7 separate regions of the Homo sapiens genome follow, and regions 1, 2, 3, 5, 6 and 7 are each linked to region 4. Evidence: promoter capture Hi-C in 16 types of primary human blood cells and fetal thymus (Javierre and others, 2016). All regions are on one chromosome and are shown on one strand. The core of a region is centred on a gene start or on the middle of the fragment in contact, and the rest is flanking DNA. Distances in the headings are between cores, read along the strand shown. Region 1 overlaps ATP10A (ATPase phospholipid transporting 10A (putative)). Region 2 holds the start of ATP10A (ATPase phospholipid transporting 10A (putative)). Region 3 overlaps SNRPN (small nuclear ribonucleoprotein polypeptide N). Region 4 holds the start of UBE3A (ubiquitin protein ligase E3A). Region 5 overlaps SNHG14 (small nucleolar RNA host gene 14). Region 6 overlaps LINC02346 (long intergenic non-protein coding RNA 2346). Region 7 overlaps SNHG14 (small nucleolar RNA host gene 14).

The links. Contacts are between HindIII fragments. The CHiCAGO score rates a contact against its expected background, and 5 or more counts as called.
Region 1: a contact is called between a fragment that was not itself captured here and the fragment with the promoter of UBE3A in region 4, in 1 of 17 cell types (total CD4 T cells). The highest score is 5.0, in total CD4 T cells.
Region 2: a contact is called between the fragment with the promoter of ATP10A here and the fragment with the promoter of UBE3A in region 4, in 1 of 17 cell types (naive CD4 T cells). The highest score is 6.9, in naive CD4 T cells.
Region 3: a contact is called between a fragment that was not itself captured here and the fragment with the promoter of UBE3A in region 4, in 8 of 17 cell types (activated CD4 T cells, total CD8 T cells, naive CD4 T cells and 5 more). The highest score is 9.0, in activated CD4 T cells.
Region 5: a fragment that was not itself captured here is called in contact with the fragment with the promoter of UBE3A in region 4 in 1 of 17 cell types (non-activated CD4 T cells); the score reaches 5.3 in non-activated CD4 T cells.
Region 6: a fragment that was not itself captured here is called in contact with the fragment with the promoter of UBE3A in region 4 in 2 of 17 cell types (total B cells and naive B cells); the score reaches 9.2 in total B cells.
Region 7: a contact is called between a fragment that was not itself captured here and the fragment with the promoter of UBE3A in region 4, in 6 of 17 cell types (activated CD4 T cells, total CD8 T cells, M2 macrophages and 3 more). The highest score is 7.3, in activated CD4 T cells.

Annotation. Positions count from the first base shown.
Region 1 is chr15:25,839,496-25,842,349 of GRCh38, forward strand. The region is part of intron 1 of ATP10A (ATPase phospholipid transporting 10A (putative)); the gene reads right to left. Among named protein-coding and RNA genes, the nearest start is that of MIR4715, 7.9 kb to the right of the region's middle. The HindIII fragment of the contact is 939 bases long and covers 1,134-2,072 here.
Region 2 is chr15:25,862,043-25,864,742 of GRCh38, forward strand. ATP10A (ATPase phospholipid transporting 10A (putative)) reads right to left here and starts at 1,285. Exons shown (of 21, transcript NM_024490.4): 1 at 606-1,285. The coding sequence starts at 1,054. The HindIII fragment of the contact is 7,208 bases long and covers 1-2,700 here.
Region 3 is chr15:24,969,124-24,971,853 of GRCh38, forward strand. The region is part of intron 3 of SNRPN (small nuclear ribonucleoprotein polypeptide N); the gene reads left to right. All of the region lies in intron 6 of SNHG14 (small nucleolar RNA host gene 14), which reads left to right. It also overlaps a transcript of SNURF not described here. Among named protein-coding and RNA genes, the nearest start is that of PWARSN, 12 kb to the right of the region's middle. The HindIII fragment of the contact is 2,097 bases long and covers 426-2,522 here.
Region 4 is chr15:25,437,763-25,440,462 of GRCh38, forward strand. It overlaps UBE3A (ubiquitin protein ligase E3A), which reads right to left and starts at 1,262. Exons shown (of 13, transcript NM_130839.5): 1 at 727-1,262. RefSeq lists enhancers at 378-1,323, 1,324-2,269 and silencers at 407-826, 1,187-1,526. The HindIII fragment of the contact is 4,364 bases long and covers 1-2,700 here.
Region 5 is chr15:25,016,749-25,019,456 of GRCh38, forward strand. It overlaps SNHG14 (small nucleolar RNA host gene 14), which reads left to right. Exons shown (of 148, transcript NR_146177.1): 21 at 2,279-2,400. Among named protein-coding and RNA genes, the nearest start is that of PWAR6, 14 kb to the right of the region's middle. The HindIII fragment of the contact is 189 bases long and covers 1,189-1,377 here.
Region 6 is chr15:25,938,886-25,941,740 of GRCh38, forward strand. All of the region lies in intron 1 of LINC02346 (long intergenic non-protein coding RNA 2346), which reads left to right. Among named protein-coding and RNA genes, the nearest start is that of LINC02346, 38 kb to the left of the region's middle. The HindIII fragment of the contact is 2,377 bases long and covers 243-2,619 here.
Region 7 is chr15:24,990,948-24,993,647 of GRCh38, forward strand. The region is part of intron 15 of SNHG14 (small nucleolar RNA host gene 14); the gene reads left to right. Among named protein-coding and RNA genes, the nearest start is that of SNORD108, 5.4 kb to the left of the region's middle. The HindIII fragment of the contact is 1,625 bases long and covers 463-2,087 here.

The DNA of each region.
Region 1 (2,854 bases), core at 353-2,852, 400 kb after region 4:
CTCTGCTGGAAAGAGGGTAAATCTACACTAGCCCTCCTTAGCAAGGCGGCAGGCTCGTCCTCTCTCCCGCTCTGCAGAGCATGCTGGGTCCTGAAAACCTCACATTCCCACCACTGGGCACTCCGTTGGCAGGAGCCCCACCTGGGCAACATGTGTACTGGGCACACCAAATTTCCATGTCTTCTTCTTATGCTGACTCCTTACCATTAATAACTCAATGGTCATATTTTAAGCTTTTTATTTCGGAATAATTACAGATTCATAGGAAGTTGCAAAGAAATGTACAGGGAGGTCCCATGCACCCTTCACCCAGCCTCCCCTAAGGCCACCATGCCCCAAAACCAGAGGACAAAATCAAAACCGGGAAATTGGCATTGGTACAGCCGACAAAGCTTATTCAGATTTCTCTAGCTTTAAGTGCATTCGTGTGCGTGTGTGTGCGCATGTGCATCTGTGCAGTTTCTCAACCACAACCGAAATAGTACCCACACACAATCAAGATGGCGCCAATGGGACAAGACCCCTCATGCTACCTCTCTGGGGCCACGTTCACCCCCTCCTGCATCCCTAACCCCTGGCAAACACTAACTTGTCCCTCATCCCCCTAAGAATGTTATTTCACAAATGTTCTATAAATGGGATCACGCAGCATATATCCTTTTGAAATTAGGTTTTCCTAACTTTTATTTTAGGTTTGGGGGTTTGTTACACAGGTAACAAACCTATGCACATGTGAAGGTTTGTTACATTGGTAAACTCACGTTATAGGGGTTTGTGTACAGATTATTTCATCACCCAGGTATTAAGCCTAGTACCCAACAGTTATCTTTTCTGCTTCTCTTTCTCCTCTCACCCTCCACCCTCAGGTAGACTCCAGTGTCTGTTGTTCCCTTCTTTCTGTTCATAATTCTCATCATTTAGCTCCCAGGCTTTTTCCATTCACCAAAATCTCCCTGAGGCCCATGCAAGTTGCTGTGTTTATCAACAGTCTGTTCCTTTTTACTACTGACTAGTATTCCACCGTATGGAGGGATCACAGTTTCTTTAACCACTTACCTTTTGAGGAACATCTAGGTTATTTCCAGTGTTGGGTTATTATTTAAAAAAAAATGCTGCGATGAACATTTCTGCAAAGCTTCTCTGTGAATGTAAGTTCTCATTTATCTGGGGTAAATGCCCAGGAGTGCAACTGGTGGATTATATGACAATTCTATTTTTAGTTTTGTGAAGGGACTATTTTCCAGAGTGGGTATGTTTTACATTCCCACAGCAACGTAGGAGAGATCCCATTTCTCACACCCTCAGCAGCGTTTGGTGGTATCACTCTTTTTATTTGTGCCATTCTGATAGATGCGCAGTGGTATCTCTGAGTGGCTTTAATTTGCATTTCCCTGTTTTGTAAAGATGTTGAACATCTTTTCATGTGCTTACTTGCCATCTGCATACCTTCTTCAGTGAATGTCTCATGTCTTGCCCATTTTTAAACAGGATTCATTGTTTTGTTAATGTTCAATTTTGAGAGTTCTTTACGTATTCTAGATATTAGTGCTTTGTTGGGTATGTGATTTGCAAATATTCTCTCTCGTCTGGAATTTCTCTGCTCTTTTTCATTGGATCTTTCCCACAGCAAAGGATAATGCTTTTGGTGTCAAGTCTATGAATTCTTTGTCTAGTCTTAGATCCCAAAAATGTTTTATGTTTTCTTTTAGAAGTTTTATCGTTTTACATTTAAATCTATAATCTTTAACAAGTTAATTTTTATATGAGGTATGTGAGGTTTAGGGTTTTTTTTTTTTTCTAATGGATGTCTAATTGCTCCCACACCGTTTATTGGAAAACTATATACTTCCTCCACTGAACTGATTGTCAAAAACTAATTGGGCATATCTGTTGGGACTTATTTCTGGGTTCTTCACTCTGGTTCATTACATATGTGCCATCCCTTTGCTGATACCACACTTTGCAGCTCCACAGTAAGCATTAATATTGGGAGAAGTGAGTGCTTCCACTTTATTATTCTTTTTGAGAAATCTTGTGGACATTTTTGGACCTGTGTTTTTCCACGTAGAATAAGCTTGTGTATGTCTACAAAAAAAAAAAACATTGCTGAGGTTTTGATAGGAGTTACGTTAAATCTATAGATAATTATAGAGAAAACTGACTCACTATTATGTTCATTTTCCGATCCATGAACATGGGAAGTCTCTCCATTTATTCAGATGTTCCTTGATATTTTTCATCAGCATTTTGTAATGTTCATCCTGCATCCTGTATGAGCATTGTGAAACTTATATGTAAGTATTTTATTTTCTTGGTGCAACTGTAAATGGTATTATGTTTGTGATTTCAGTTTTCACTAGTCCATTGTGGGGATACAGAAATGCAGTCAATTCATAGCCACGGATCTTGTATCCTGTCATTGTAATGAGCTCATTTTTCAGTTGTAAGAGGTTTTGTTTTGGGTTTTGTAGAATCAGTCTTTCATCCTCAACTGTGAAATTGGTTGTAGGTTTTTTGTAAATGCTCTGTATAAAGGAGTGGAAGGCAGTTCCCTGGGCCACCTGTTGCTGTTGTGTGGGTGGATGGGCAAAAGCCCCTGGGTCTGGGTCTCCTGGAGCCACCGGATAGGGAGTGGTCCACACAGCAGCATCAGGCTGTCCACTGGTGGCTTGGGTGTGGAGCGGGCCTTGGGCTCCCACTAGGTCTCACTGAGCTTCCCCTTTGGCCTGACAGAGCCTTTTGGTTTTGCTTTATTTTGTTTTCTCTATACCTGTTGGCGGTTCTGGTTACAGGCCTTCCTGTGCCCACACTGGAAGGATACAGGAGATAAAACAGAAGTCCAGGGTCTCATGGT
Region 2 (2,700 bases), core at 35-2,534, 420 kb after region 4:
GAAAATTAGGCAGGCAGCTACCGGGCGGTGCCTGGCTCGCGGCTCATGGCTCACAGTGGAGGATGGACACTGCTGTTATTTCCCCTGCCCTGGTACCTGGGCCGTGCCAGACATATCAGCACTTGGCGGCAGTTTCACTTTGCTGCTGTCCTGAGCCGAGCTGTTAGCAGACTGAGCTTTACTGTCCTGTGCCGGCTGTTCAGAGACCACTGTGCCTGGCCGAAGACTGAGGCAGGGACTTCAGGCCAGGGGGCCAGGCTGGCTTTTCCTGCCTTTCACTTCAGGTGGGAGCGGCTGTGGATGAGGATGTCCAGCGGCCGTCGGTTTCTAGCCTTGGGATCATTCTGGCCCCGACACGGAGTGACAGGGGATCCCCACGCGTCCCCGCATCCAGGGCGCCCCTTTAGCTGCGGCGGAGGCACAGAGAGGCCTTGGCGGCGCTGTGGCTTCGGTCGGCACCGGGTCCCGCGCAGCCGGGCCCTCCACCCTGAGTGGAGCTGCCTTCTAAGCACCCAGCCCCTGCCAATCACTGTGCCCAACACCAAGTTCCCGGGGCGCCCTGCCCTGCGCCACCGCGCGCTCGCTCGCCCGCCCGCCCAACTCACCTGCTGAAGACCAGGCAGCCCAGGTGGTTGATCTTGTGGTCGGAGCGGTGGCGGCTGTAGTCCTCCCACAGGTCCCTGAAGGCCGTGATGGCCAGGATGAAGAGCACCGGCGCCAGTGCCAGGCCGGGCTGGAAGGCGTTCACCGCCGGCACGAAGTTGAGCAGCGCGATGAAGACAAAGTACACGTTGGCCGGGCGGTGGAACTGCTCGAACAGGTTCTTGGGCAGGAAGGACAGCAGCGTGTACTTGGTAGTCTTGAGCCGGTTGTCGGCCAGGTGCTGGGCACACCCGCGCCGCCGTCGCCGCTCGCCCTTGGCCGCGCCAGCCGCAGGGTCCTCGGCGCCCGGGGGCGGCAGCAGGTTGGAGCGCACCGTGCGCGTCCTGCCCTCTCGGCGCCTCCGCCGTCCCGGAGGCCCGGGCTCCTCGGTCCCCGCCGGCTCCCGCTCCATGGCCGCGTGTCGCCGCGCCCGGCTCCTCCGCCGCTCACGCCCGCCCGCGCCGGCCTCTTAGGTTATCATCACTCGCGGCCCGGGCGCGGCGGTGCGAGCTCCCCGCCTGCGGGACGCACGGAGACCGCGGTCAGCGCGCCGCCTGGCCGGCCCAGCGCGCCCAGCCCGCGCCCAGCCCCGTCCACTCCCGTCCAGCCCCGCCGCCCGGCCGCAGTCCCCAGGGCGCAAGCTGGGCGGGTGCCGCACAGAGCCCCCTTGTCCTCGCCGCCCGCCCCCGGCCCGGGTCGTTTCCGCCGCGGTGGCCACGGCCCCGCCCTCGTTCCGCGCCCGGACTGGGCCACGCCGGATAGCGGGAAACAAAAAAAGCCCGAGCTGGAAACTTCAGAGAGGTTTAGTTTCGTTTCCCAGAAGCATCAGTTCGGTCCCAAAACGCTGCAAACGCGCGCTGCCTGCAGTAGGAGAGAGGAAACCGCGAAGCGCGAGAAAAGGCGCCCCCGTCCCCAAGCAGCCCGCGCGCCCTTCCAGGGGCCAGACCTGCTCCATCCTGGACGGCGAAACGACCTCGGGAGACCCCGGTTAGGACCTTACTCCAGGGATCAACTGGAATCAAAATCCAAAGGATCCATGGCATCCAGTGCTCCAATTTTTAAGTCTTTTTTACGCAGGACCTCTGCTCCTGGGGAGCCCTGGGAAGGGCGATTCCGCGTTGCCTCTAAGAACTTCTTTCCTACCCCACTTCCCAGCCCCCACCACTTTCAGATTCCGTTGTTGGGCGAACTAGACCGTTTCCTTTCCACCATCATCATTACTGCCTTTCCTTCCTCTCCTAAATAAATTCTTTTTCTTTTTTCTGTTCTTTCTTCATGGAAAGGAGAAATATATCGCTATAGCAAAGACAGAATTTGGTTTGCAGGTATTTGAGTGTCTGTTTCCCTCCCTGGGAAATCATGAGGACCGAAACGCTCCTTGTGCGCTGTAGCTCTGAGGTGGCTGTCATGGCCCGGACGGCGGGGGAGGCGAGGATGGTTGTGGGGAGGCGAGGATGGTTGTGGGGAGGAGAGGGGAGCGTCAGGAGGGTGTCCCAGAAGTGTGGGGCGAAGGGCTCCCCTCCACATCATGGGGCATCCGAGAAGGGGTGGGAGAATAAGCACGGCATGGAAAAAGGAGCTGGGAGTCCCCCACGTCCGCAGTGAGACCCCACAGATGTTTCATGGCTGTGACTGTTTGCCTCCCACTCAAGAAGTACAGAGATGAGAAGCAGTTATTTCTTGCCCAGGAGGCCGTGGCTGGGCGGTTGGCCGTGGCCCCAGGCTCTTCCTGGGGGTGCCTGCTAACAAGGCACTGCCCTGGATGGACTCAAATCACGTCTTCGCCAGGACCCTGGCTTGGGGAGGCCCTCCCCTCCAGCACCCTGGCTTACCCGGCTCCAGTTATGACATTCTTACATCTCTGCCCAGTTTTGCCACCATCCACAATGTTGCCCAGAACCCAGTGTTAGAAGGTAGAGTGGTGACAGGTGTGAAGAAAATAATCCCATCCCCCAGTCACAGGGGTGGGCTTTTGACATGTAGAGGCCCAGATCAGGGAAAGGTTTGGCTGAAGTCTGCATTGTTGGGGAAAGGAGTCAGGTCTCACAGTCAACCAGC
Region 3 (2,730 bases), core at 224-2,723, 470 kb before region 4:
TTATTAATTAATTTATTTATTTAGAGATGAAGTTTCACTCTGTTGCCCAGGCTGGAGTGCAGTGGTATGGTTTCGGCTCACTGCAACCTCTGCCTCCCAGGTTCAACTGATTTTCCTGCCTCAGCCTCCCAAGTATCTGGGATTATAGGCACCCACCACCACACCTGGCTAATTTTTGTATTTTTGGTAGAGACGGGGTTTCACCATGTTCTCCAGGCTGGTCTCAAACTCCTGAACTCAGGTGATCCACCTGCCTTGGCCTCTCAAAGTGCTGGGATTACAGGCGTGACCTACCGCGCCCGGCCCATTTTGAGTTTAAATCAAAGGAGACAGAAATTTTCTGAGAAATCCTCCTTTCTTGAATCCTTTATACACAACATTTTCTAGCAATTGCATAAGCAAATTGGAATCTAATCATTGTCCAAAGCTTTTCCCTTGAGTAAGGGAATTTTTCATTGAATAGGTGTGCACAACTGATTTTTTACTTTTTAGGAATTTTTTAGCTTCTCAGTTCAGTTCACAGATTTTTGTAAATTTTTAAATACAACATTTAAGTCATACATTATAGTCTGCAAGTAGGACCATCTAATTTTATGATACTTAATTATATCTTATTCTAGTCTCAACTGCTAGTTCTACCTAAATAGTACCCATTACTAGTATTCCTGTAGAAGAAGGGTTGGTAATATATCTGGACCACTACCTGTGTCTATAAATGAAATTTTATTGGAACACAACTCAGTTCATTTATTATGTTATCTTTGGCCACATTGGTGCTACGGTGGTGCAGCTTTGAGTAGTTGTGACAGATTGAATGACAGGCAAAGCCTAAAATACTTAGTATCTTGCTATTTAAAAGAAAATAATTGGCTGAGTTTTATTTTAGAGGAGCAGATTGAAAGAAGAAAACACCAAAGTGGGGGCCAGTCAATATAGTCATAATGTCATAGAAGGTGATAAAGAATAGATTATAGAAGTATATACGAAGTATACATTACAGCGTAGACAATCAGATGAATTTCTTGGGGAAGGGATCAGTCTAAGAGTCATGTTAAAGTCTGCTGTGGAGGAAGATGGGTAGTCTTTAACAACATTTAAACACTTCGTACCCGTTTTCATTAAAAATGTAAGGCACACGATGGCCAGGAAAAATAAGAAAATAAACTATTAATGTGGCCGGGTGTGGTGGCTCACGCCTGTCATCCTAGCACTTGGGGAGGCTGAGGCAGGTGGATCACCTGAGGTCAGAAGTTCGAGACCAACCTGGCCACATGGCGAAACCCCATCTGTTCTAAAAATACAAATATTAGCCGGGTGTAGTGGGGGACACCTGTAATCCCAGCTACTCGGGAGGCTGAGGCAGGAGAATTTCTTGAACCCTAGGGGCAGAGGTTGCATTGAGCAGAGATTGTGCCACTGCGCTTCAGCCTGCGTGACAGAGCAAGACTTCTATCTCAAAAAAAAATTGTGTTATGAATATTCTGTTTTTCTTTGGTACCTAAATATTTACCAGGGTACATATCCAACTGGATACCTACCTAGTAGTTGGGATGCAGGGTGTAATATTAGTATGACTTTTAAACGTTTTTGTTACATTGTTTTCTAAACACATCATGAGAAGTGCTGATGGCCACTAAAAATTAGTAGACCATTAGTTTCTCAGTACCACCCTTTGTATTCTGGTGTTTTTTTGTTTTTGTTAAATAAACCTTTCCAATAAAGGAAATTTGTTTTCTTGTGTTTTTAATTGGAATTATTGTGTATTAATATTTTGCATTTAGTTTTCTTTTGTCACTTGTTTTTGCATACTCTTCGATGGAGGATCTCTATGGAGACCCTCTATAATTTTAAATTTTAACAGATCAATACTGATATTCCATGGTGTGTCTCATTTGCTATGTGTGCCTTGGCCAACCCTAGTCATCTTATTTTACTATTTGCTATGTGTGCTTTGGCCAACCCTAGTCATCTTATTTTACTTTTGAATTAAAGTAGATTTACATTTTTATGTAGTTTAATCATTTGAAAGTCTACAGTTTCCTAAAGTTTGAAAACTTGTGCTTCTGTGAGGGATACCAGTTCGTTAATTTGCTTATGTGCCCTTTGATCTCAGAAGATACACTATGACTGCTCATCCATCCTTGCAGTGTGATGTTGCTACTCTCGTCGCCTTTCTCATGAAGTTTTGTTTTCTTGTGCTGTAAAGATAAATTTGACCACTCTGCAGTGATTTATTTTCTTCTTTCACTTACAAGGTCATGACTACATTGTATCACATTTAGGGATGAGAGAGAACTGTTTCTAAATTCCAAATCTGTCTCTTAAGGGAATCCTTTTAACTGCTGTAGGAGGTCAACTCCTATTGTGAGTAAAACATATATCTCTTCTAGCTATACAGGTTATTATTATATTATGATATATATATAAATATAAAATAATAATCTGTCCCTAATTCTCTAGGTCTTCAGTTCTTTGGGCCATAACTCACATCCCTAGATGTGTTTCATACCTCTGGACCGCTAAGCTTGTGGGAGTTATTTATATCCTATTGCTCAAGGTCATTGCCAAGGTCTGATTTTTCACAAAAAAATTCCAACCTCTGGCATAAATGGGTTAAAAACGGCTTTAGTGATGTAGTGCTGATAAACATAAAATTCACCCAATTTAAGTGCATGAAGCAATGATTTAAGTAAATTTACAGAACTGTGCAATCATTGCCATGAACTACTC
Region 4 (2,700 bases), core at 12-2,511:
CATTTGGTACATTCAATTCTACCTTTACCAACAAAAGCCTTTACCACCAAGATGAGGAAAGCATCCTTTTCATTTTCTACACTGAAAAGGGGGGGGAAAAAAGGCCAACTGCTTGCATACAGGTCTGCATATAACACAGCAGTCTCTGGCAAAGCCAATAACTCACGTTCAACTTCAGAAATCCTGGTGGCCGGTAACACAGAGTAACCTGTGCGCACAACCCTTGGGCTTGACATACCACTTCATCCGCCCTCCCTTCCCATCAATCCACCCCCAAAACCCCAACCCACCAAGCACACGGCTAAATATGTCTTCCCCAAGAGAGCCAAAAACCTTGAAAACGCCGAGAAAGGGCTCCCCTTTGAAGGAAAGGGCCTGCCCTTCCCTGTCTGGGGCCCCGGCTGGCTCGAAGAGCCTGGCTCCTAGGAGGCCCAAATCTCGACGCCTCGCACGTCCCGCCCCGCCCCGGGCCCGCTCGCGTCCCCTCGGGCGACAAAACCCTCCCGCCGTCGCTCAGCCAGGACTGACAGTTACGGCTGCAGCAGCCGCGGCCACCAGGGGCCTACTTCTGGCACCAGCCCCTTCGGACCACGCGCCCCCAAACACTCGCCTCGGCGGCGGGGGGCGGGGAAGGGGGGTGTCGACCTCGCCACAGCGGGCCCCGAAGGCCGGCCGAGTGACGGAGGGGAGCCAGCGCCGCCTGGCGCAGGCCGCGGCAACACTGACCTGTCGTCGCCCCCGCGCCTGGGCTGCGGCGGCCGCCTCACTGGTCGTAGTCGCCCTCGCCCGCCGCCTCCGCCCGCCACCGCCTCGTTCTCTTTCGCTGCCGCCACCGCCGGGGCTCATGCGGGACCCGCGCTTCCTTATCCGGAAAACGAGGCCGGGAAAGGGAGCGCCGGGGCCGCCGAAATCCCGGCGTTCGTCGCCAGCCGCCGCTGCCTGTCCACACCGGGGGGCTGAGGGGCCCTCCTGCCAGGGGCTACAGGCCGCGAGCTATTCCGAGGAGGAGCCGAAGGAGGCGCCGCCGCCCGCAGCCGAGCGCGCCGGGTCGGCAGAGGTGAAGCGTAAGTAGGCGGCGGATGGCGGGCGCCCGCGCTGGCGGATGGCTACGCGGCGGAGGGGTGCGCGAGCGAGCGAAGCCTGGTGTGTCGGGTCCTGGCGAAGGGAAAAGGCCCCGTCGTCTCCTGTAGTCACCCCGAGCCCAGCGCCACCATCTTGGGAGACACACGGATCTCGCGGCCGCGGCGCAAGACGGGAGGACTGGCTGGGCGGGCCGAGTATCCCGGCAGGCAGCGCGCGCCGCCCGGCCGGGCGAGGGCTCCAGGCCGGGACGCGGGGACGTGGGGCGGGGCCAAGACGCGCGGGAGGGCGCCGCGCTCCGCCCCTCCTTCCTTCGCCGGCCCCGCCTCCCTCCCGCTTGCCGTCGCCGCCGGCGCACGGGCCATTGGGAAGAGGAGGTGGCCTGCGGCCCCTCGGAGTCCCACCAGGCTCGGTCGCCATCTTGCGACTGGACAGAAAGGGTAATCCCTCTTTTTAGTTTCTGCTGTCTGTGACCCGAAAGAATAAACCTGGGACTTCCGGAAGCCCTCTGGGCACCCCCCCCCCCAGGAGGGTTGCAGAGCCCCTTGGTGTACCCAGCAGAGGAACGCCTCAGACTTTGTTGGGAAACGAATGGCTCTGAAAGTTAGCTGAAGCCGCTGGAATAGCCCCCCAGCCCCGAGGCGGGGCAGGTGCCTGCCGTTATTGGCTTTTCGACCCCAACCCTTTTCTATCTGGAGCTGCCTTTGTAGATGTTGCAGGGGTGCCCCGAGAGTGCAGGCCAGATTTTAGAGGACCAAGGTCATCTACTTAGGCCTCTTGCCAACACAGGATGTGTCAACTAGTTTACCAGAGACGAAGGTAAAGTCCCGTCTCCTGCAGTTGTTGACGTTCAGTAGGTCGTCGGTTAAGAAAAGTGGCTCCCTGGTTGACCCCAGCTGGATAGAGGCTAATTTTGATCCATATGACAGCTGAACGTAGTTAAAGCCATTAAAATTAAATCCATTTAAAGTCATATTTGGTACCAGGGTCACCATTTTAAAAGGTGTGTGTGTGTATGTGTGTGTGTGTGTGTGTGTGTGTGTATAGCTTTACAACACTTGCTAGCAAAGCCAAAAGAGTATCACTAACAATTCATAGTGTTACAACTTGCAACTTTGTTGATAAGCCCTTGAAGTACTAGATGAGTACCCATGTCTAGTATTCAGATTTTTTATATCAACAGTCGTACATAGCAGTGTATCTTTTTTAAATTTATTTTTATTTTTAAACTTAGAAATGGTGTCTTGCTATGTTAGGCCCAGGCTGGTCTCGAGCTCCTGGCCTCAAGTGATCCTCCCACCTCGGCCTCCCAAAGTTTTGGGACTACAGGCATGAGCCACAGTGCTCGGCCAGCAGTGTAATTTTTAACTGTCAGTCTCGGAACATCTTTTTTGTATAGCCAAGTGTGTGGGTGTGTGTGTGTATCCGCCTCACAACTATAACCAACCATTGAAAAACCAACAATAAGCTAGAAGAATTTAAGTTATTCCAGGACAACTGATGATAATGATAGTATTAAGCCATATTCGATTTTAAGATGTTTTAACTCAGCTCTTTACTCACTTTTCATTTCCTCTCATTACACATCCACATTTGGAAACTATTTGCTGTTATATTTCA
Region 5 (2,708 bases), core at 33-2,532, 420 kb before region 4:
ATCCATTGCCTCTTAAATACGTAATGGTAAATTGGGTAAAGGAATTGGGTAAATCACATGGTTTTCCAAAACTTCAGGAGATTTAGAAGCTGTATTTTATGTTTTCTCAAGGAAAGGATGAAAAGGACACGTTAAACACTGATAGTGTCTACTGTAGGATACCTTTCTGGTCTCACAAACTAGGTATACTTTCTACTTAAATGGAAACTATCCCCTTCACAGTGGGAACCAATAAAAACCTCACCCAGGTAAAAATCCAGCGTCTCAGTGATGCTATCTCCCTATCATGAGGTAATTCACAGTAATCTGTACCTTAAGTCTCAGTGTACCTACTGTTGGCCCAGAGATAGGTGAAACTTAAAGATAATTGTACCTTGGCTGCATGTAGTGGCTCATGCCTATAATCCCAGCACTTTGGGAAGCTGAGGCGGGCAGATCACACCGTCAGGAGTTAAAGACCAGCCTGGCTAACATGGTGAAACCCTGTCTCTACTAAAAATACACCACACCCTGGTGTGGTGGTGTGTGCCTGTAATACCAGCTACTCAGAACGCTGAGGCAGGAGAATCGCTTGAACCCGGGAGGCAGAGGTTGCAGTGAGCTGAGATCGTGCCATTGCACTCCAGTCTGGGCAATAGGGTGAGACTCCATCTCAAAAAAATAATAATTGAACCTTATTTCCTTTTGTACAATGTACAATGAGCAGAGTCAGGGCAACTATAATACAACTCCAAACTCTAAGGTGTCAAATGTGATAGAAATCACTTTTCCATTGAAATTTTGAAATCCCTCTGGAAATACACTGTGAAGGCTCCCTATACTGTGCTAGAGAGTGTTTTACTAGGGCCTGGAAGATGCTCACTTTTTCCTTGTTTTCCTTGGCTGTAGCTTTTACCTCTGGCACACTTTCCCAATCCCCTTATCCTACTTAATTATTTTTAAAATAGGCATTGTGGAGGATGTTTGTTCATATTTTAAGTCTTAATCATGGGCTTCTAGTTTCTTTGGAAGTAAAAGTGACCCATTAAAAATGTAAAATGTGTTATGTGCATCATGGGCACAGGAGTTTCGTGGCCTATATGTGATTCTAACTTATATCTTACCATGGTGATCGTAGAACCATGTGTTGATATGTAATTTTCAAAAGAGGTGAATGCCCTTGGCACAGTAATCTGTCATATTTAGCAAAGCTTCCCTGAGAGCCATCATAACAGACCCACAGGAATATTTTCATTAGTAAGAAGTAGATGTGTTCAGCCAGTAAAATTTTGAAGTGGCCATGACTTCAATCTGAGTACAGAGGGAAAGTTACACACAATAATTCAGTGATTGGTGGATAGGTGCGTTCAAGGAGGCAGGGTTGGATTGGTGTTTTCAAGCTTGGTAGTAGTAGTAGACAGGCAGACATGTGAGTTGATGGAAGGATGCAAGAATGGTTACTGAAATTTTCTTTGTATTATATGGTTAATGTGGATTTAATAACTAGTCATTGAAATTATGTGGGATTGGATATTTAAAGCCCAGAAAGATGAATATAATAATCGTCTAATATAATTTGAAATATAATAACGGATGCATGCAAAATTGGGTGTATTGAATAATGTAAGAAATAGATGGAAAGTAGAATATGAGCAAATGGCTGGATGCAAGAATGGAGAATGCAGGTTTTAAAAACCTGTTGGGTGTATGTATGGTTATATGCACAGTGGAATCATTTAGTGAAGGTGCAGATGGTTATATGCCTAGGTGTTATCATTGGATGGATCAAAAATGGAATGCTGTATGGATAGATCTTTAGATTGATGAGTACAAATATGGCTATCTAAAACCTTGGATAAATGTAGGGATCAGGGTTCAGGTACATTGGTTGCATAAGTGATAGCTGCCTGTTTGGTGGCTTTAGAGTGGCTTAATAGACTGATAGATGGGTTGATTCACAAGGTGATGGTACAGGAATTTGATGACTATGAGAATGGGCTGATGCAATAATAAAGTCATATATGTAAAGTTGACTGGAAAGATGGACATTTGAAAGCCAATGGTATATTTTCACGGGCAGATTCATTATGAAATTATAAAAGTTTTGTTTTTGCATTCTCAACATGATGTGTTAGCAAATAAGCAAAAACTAACTGCAGTGGGTTCACAAGTTAGTTTAATTAAAATGATCTTTCAATATTTTAATAATTTGGGGACTTTAGGAGGTTGAGGAATGAGAGAACTTCACCTTCTGTATATTAACTGGTCGTATGTCACAATTTTCCCATATTTTTCACAGTTATAGCTGAGGTGGTACCAGTTTAAGAAGTGAGAACTTCTTCACTGACTGAAATTTGCATATCAATCCAAATCATTGTGCTTATTTACTATTTTTGTAGACGTCATTCTTCAAAAGTGCTGGTAAGAATCAGTAACCCTGGTGTACTGTTTATTTTTGACCAGTTTGATATTGAATCTAATTTGTAATATTTTAAAATCCAAAACTATACATGAATTCTATAAAACACAAAGTTGTGAATTTGTGGAGTGATTATCAGTTAGGTGAAATAAAAGAGATAAAAGGGCTCCCTAAATTTTGACACAGTTTTGATATGTAGTTTATGCAGGTTTTGATTTACCAGTCTTATCTACTCTCACCGTAGTATGTAATGTCATCTGGACTGAGACTATAACTTTTTATCTGTATACTCAGTAAATTTTATATTATT
Region 6 (2,855 bases), core at 181-2,680, 500 kb after region 4:
GGTATTTGTGATGCTTTCTGAAATGTGGTTGGTTTTTGGAAAAAATGCCAGTAAGGACCCAGGTGCAAGAGCCGTAGGGCATCCCAAAGTAGGGGGTCCCTCAGCTTCCATGGCAAAGCTGCCTCTGCTCCAGCCTTAGCCCTGCCCCCCCGCCGCCCCCCCCCCCCGACCCCAGTTTGGATACCTGAAGCCTACCCCAGGCGATTGAACACAAAGCATTTCACTAACTTTCACAGCCTGTAAGCTTCACCAGCTGAGCAGAAGCTGCGGTTGGGCTGGGTGCATGACCTGCAGCCCTGGAAGTGAGGGCTCAGAGAGTCCCCTCAGTCACAGCTGCATGAAGCCCAGATGCTTCTCATTATGTTTCTGTCCAAGCTGCCTGGCCAGGAGGTTTGACCCAGCCCTTGGTTTGTACTTCCTGCACGGTGGCATCCAAGCGTGTTTTTTAAAAAAACACATATGTAAAAATGGTTAACCATACTCAACCTCTTCTGTCTCTGAGGAACAAGCAGTTTCTGTTGCATGTTCTAGATACTTGCTACCCAAAACAAGGCCCACAGGCCAGTGTCCTTAGCATCACCTGGGAGCTGGTTAAGAAAGTGCAATCTCAGGCCTCACCCCAGGCGCTGAAACAGAACCTGCATTTTCACAAGGGCCTTGGGTGTTTCGTGTTCAAATAATAAAGACTGACACCCCGGGACAGAAACAGTGGGGTGGGGCGGAAGGAGGGACAGGGGCAGTGGGGGTTAGATGGGGTGGGGGTGGGGGCTGTGCACCATTCTAAGTGCTTCCCAGGACTAATATATTTACTTCTCACTGCAGCTTGAAGCAATGTTATCTTGCCCTCAGTACAAAGTGAGCCCCAGGAAGTAGAGGCTCACCGCGGGTTTGGGCTAGGATAGGGTGCACCCACCATGTGGCCCAGGCCCTCACACCCACCTGGCTCCAGAGCATGGGGCCCGCTCCCCATTCTCCAGGCCTGGACCCTCTGTGCACCAACACCCGACTCATGAAAGAGCCAATAGGCTTCAACATACTATCTGTGGGACGTGTTTACTAAGCTGTGAAATTCCAGACACATATTCTCATGACTATTCTAATCCCTCCCATTACATGCAGTATGTGATGCGGAGGATGACGATGATATTTACTCCAAGATCATGGTTTTCTAGCATTCCTGGAAGCAGGACTGTGTCATTTTGCCAATACTCTACTCTTAGAAATACTGTAAGTTTTCACGTGATTTGGGTACAATTTGTCACTCTGTCACCCAGGCTGGAGTGCCGAGGCACAATCACAGCTCACTGCAGCCTTGACTTCCTGGCAATCCTCCCACCTCAGCCCCCTGAGTAGCTGGGATCACAGGCACACACTACCAAGCCTGGCTAACTAAAAAAAAAAATTGTAGAGACAGGTTTTTACTATGTTGCCCAGGCTGATAAACTCCTGAGCTCAAGCAATCCTCCCACCTCAGCCTCCCAGAGTTTTAGTATTACAAGCATGAGCCACCACACCCCGCTTGGCATAATTTCTTGCCTTTCTGGTAGAGAAGAGATTTCTCCCAGCCCCAGAGGTACCCACTCTTCTTTCCCAAAATTTTCAGAATGGACAGCACAAGCCTAGTGGCTCGATCCTGGCTGACTCCTGGCTTTCTTCTCTGCAGCGTGACATGGAAATACCAAGACCTTTCTTGATCATTGCTTCAGAAAGAGCTGGAAAAATTGCTTTACTCTCCTTAAACTCGAGTTCATTTACTTTTTCAAAGAGCGTTGGAAGGTATCATTCATTATGTTTGTGTCAGGGATGATTGGAGAAATTCATTTCCTCTGTTAAAGCCATTATATTTAGACTCCCTCCCTCAAGGTGATTCTCTGTTTTGGATATATATACGTATATAGACTTTTTCATTTCTGAAGCTATTAGTAACACGTGTTCAATTACTGGTGTAGAAAATGGATCTTAGACTGCTCTCAGTTCTTCAACCTGCATGTGTGGTCTATTTGTGATCCTAGAATCGATTTTGTTTCAAACAGCATTAAAGAAGAAACAAAAGGAATAGAGTAGAAACTATTGGAATGCACCATGCATTAGGTTTGCTAGGGCTGCTGTAACAAAGTCCCATAGACTGGAGGGCTTACACAACAGAAATGGATTGTCTCACTGTTCTGAAGCCTGTAGATTCAACATCAAGGTGCCTGCAGGGTTGGTTCCTTCCGAGGCCTTCTCCCTGGCTTGTAGACAGCAAGATGCCTTCCCCCTGTGTCCTCTGATGGTCATTCCCCTGCATCTGTCTGTCCTCATCTCCACTTCTTATAAAGACACCAGTCCTACCGGATTAAGGCCCACCCATATGAGTTCATTTCAACTTACCTCTATGAAGACCCCCCTCTCCAAATGAGGGAACATGCTGAGGTCCTGGGGGTCGGGGCTTCAACATATGAATTTTGCAGGAGGGACATAATTCGGCCTATAGCACATCATATCAGGTATTTTTTGTGAAACTTTAGCTTCAAGTGCGTGGTCTGTGTGTGTGTGTATGCATGCGCACATGTATTGGGTTACAATTTTAAGTATATTTCCTATGATGTAGGTGTTGGTCAAAAATATCTGAAAAACACAAGCTTGATTTGATGGTAGGGTGTCCTGTCAAGTGTGTTTCTCTTTGGGATGATGCAGAGATCGTGGGATCTGGAAGCCAGCTGGGAAGGCTAGGAATGAACTGTGAGATGAGCTCTTCTTGCACGTCTTGCCCCGCTTTATTTAATTATTGTTTGTTTTCTCTAGTTTTGGGTAATATCCAGGTTGTTGGCAGGTTTTGTGGAATTGTAGAATCAAGGTCCCATTTCCTTCCCAGT
Region 7 (2,700 bases), core at 25-2,524, 450 kb before region 4:
ACTTCATCAACCAATAATATTTTTTTTCTTGCTATGGAGAGTCCACTCGCCTTTGGAAGATTTACCAGTAAAAGCCCTGCACATGATATACTTGTGTGCACATGCAATAAGGACATCATTCCCCAACTCCTGCTAGCATTGTGAAAGAGCTCCAAATATTCAAATAATATAAACTTTTTTTCGTGGACATTTAGCTTACGAGTTTGTTTAAATATGTGGGAAAATTATGTTTAGATAATAGTATTGAAATGAGAATGTAAGATACACATTGAATGATAAATGTGTATGAATTGTTCATTGTGCCTTAGGTAAGCCAGACAGTGAAATTAAATGTGTAATAGTTGTATTTTTTTGCATAATCTTGGAATGTAATTAGTTAAAAGCAAACACTTAGATTTTGAACATGAATCTGTTAAGCTTGTTAATGTAGTTGCTGTGGCTAAATAACTGGTTTCCTGGGGAAGCTTCTATTTGCTAGAATTTTATTCTGGAACAGTTGTTAGAAAGGAATTCTCAGGTCACCTTTTAAAGATATACACAATTCTGTATTCACTTTTTGAGTGCATAAGGGTAATAGAAAATGACATGGGAAGCGTTAATTAGAAAAAAAGGCATTTTGTTTATGTGCATTTGAGGATACAGTGTTTGAAGTTTCTAAATAATTGTTTTATGACATTTTCTTGGTACATAGATATTGCTAACAATTAGTTTGCTGAAGTATGTAGAAACATTTTAAGAAATGATTTTAGAAATATAATTGTTAAAGTACCTCTGATGTATATTAAAAATCCTTTTATTTTGGTTTATATTGCTATGGATGTTTTTCTGGGGGAACTTAATGTATACAACTTCTAACTAAGAAGTTTTATTAATGCTGCTTTATGTATGAAAGTCATGGATGTGGATGTTATTTTGTCAGTGGTCTTTCTGTTAAAATTTACGTGGTGTAAGATTTTCTTTTCATGATGGAATTGCCAAAAAGGCCAGCCTCTAGAACACTTACATGTTAAGGGTTGGGTGGGATTTGTATTACTTTGTGTATATAACCGACAGGATTGTGTTACTGAATCTTAACCAGCATAGAGATGGCTGACATTTTGCATTTTGGGGGACATTAAATTGTTACACAATGATGTCATTGGTTACTGATAGGAGTGTTTAGACTCTTAGATGGCTTTGTTAGTATTAGGCAAATATTAGATGTGGATTTAGGAGATAAGAGGGTGGGGTGTTGGAGCCCTGTGTGCACATGAGCATATGTTGCAGGGCCTCCAGACCTAAATCCACGTGAAGATGGTGGTGGTGGTCTTACCTATATGTTAACATTACATTGTAAACAGGTAGACTACTTTCCTTTTGCTAGTGGGAGTGTTAAATCACCTCTCAGAACATTAATTCATTAAATTGCCCCTAAACATTAATTGATTGCTGGTGGATATGCTAAATATTTTTAACATCTATTTTTCTAAATGTATAGATGTCATTTTTAATTCATAGGGGATAGAACCAGTTTTGCTTGCAAAAAGCAAACTGTTCACTGGATCATTGGGCTTAATTTTTAGGTTGTGGTAGATATAATAGAAATGTTCTTACAATTTGTAGTATAATACTGTATATCTCTATAAATATATATGTGACTGTTTTTCTGATAGATGCAACATGGTGGAAATGTCATCATAAATGTCGGTCTGCCTTTGTTTATAGTTTTCAGATGTGTATATGCAGTTTTTTATACAACAGAAAAATTGCCACATGAGTCAAATAGCATAGGTTAGAAAAGTTCTCATTTGCCAAAAATATGTGACTTTCATAATAGTGAGTTGTTTTTGATTTAAAATGTTTCTATCTGTAGAGGCATTTTATAAGTTTTTATGGGGATACTAGCAATGGGATGTGAAACCTGAGTTCATTAGATCATTGGGTGATAATGGAACCCTTATGTGTATACAATATACATGGTTATATGTTTTTTAAAGCATAGGAGCTATTATGTCTGCATGGTTCTAAATATATATACACACACGTAAACACATATCTATATATCTATCTATATAGATAGATAGATAAATACATACATATGTAGTGAAAGCTTTTGTTTCCTCCCTCACATAGGCAGATTATTTGTGTGTGTAAATGAGCAGCTGAAGGGGAATTTTGTTACATGTGTATAAGACAGTCACAATATATAATTGTTTTGCTTTAATTGTTTAGTCTTTGATTTGTAGGAATTGCCAACACGTATATTTGTGTGTATGCAGGTTTATATATAAATACATATCACTGTATAAACAACATTTATTGTCATAGGATAGAAATATTCTTAAGTTGCCAGAGATACTGTATGGCTGCTAAATGTATAGTAGAAAAATGTTACCTTTTGCTTTTTAGCATCTGCATACAGATTACTAATAGGCGTATATTGTGACCAGTAAACCACTAGACAAGGGCATAAACACTTTAGTTTGATCAGTAGAATTGCTATGCCATGTTTAAATGGGATTTATTTGGTTGATGCAGAATATATAATTGTATCTAGAAGATAAATATTACAAAAATATTTTAATATACAATTTCTGTCATATTTTTGGAAATATATTTTTATTCAAAAGTAGAATCATTGTTGCCAATAGAGTTAGCATCTTTGTGTGCTTGTGAGGTTTGATTTTGAGGGTTTTCTTGGTTTTGTTTTGGGTTCTGGAG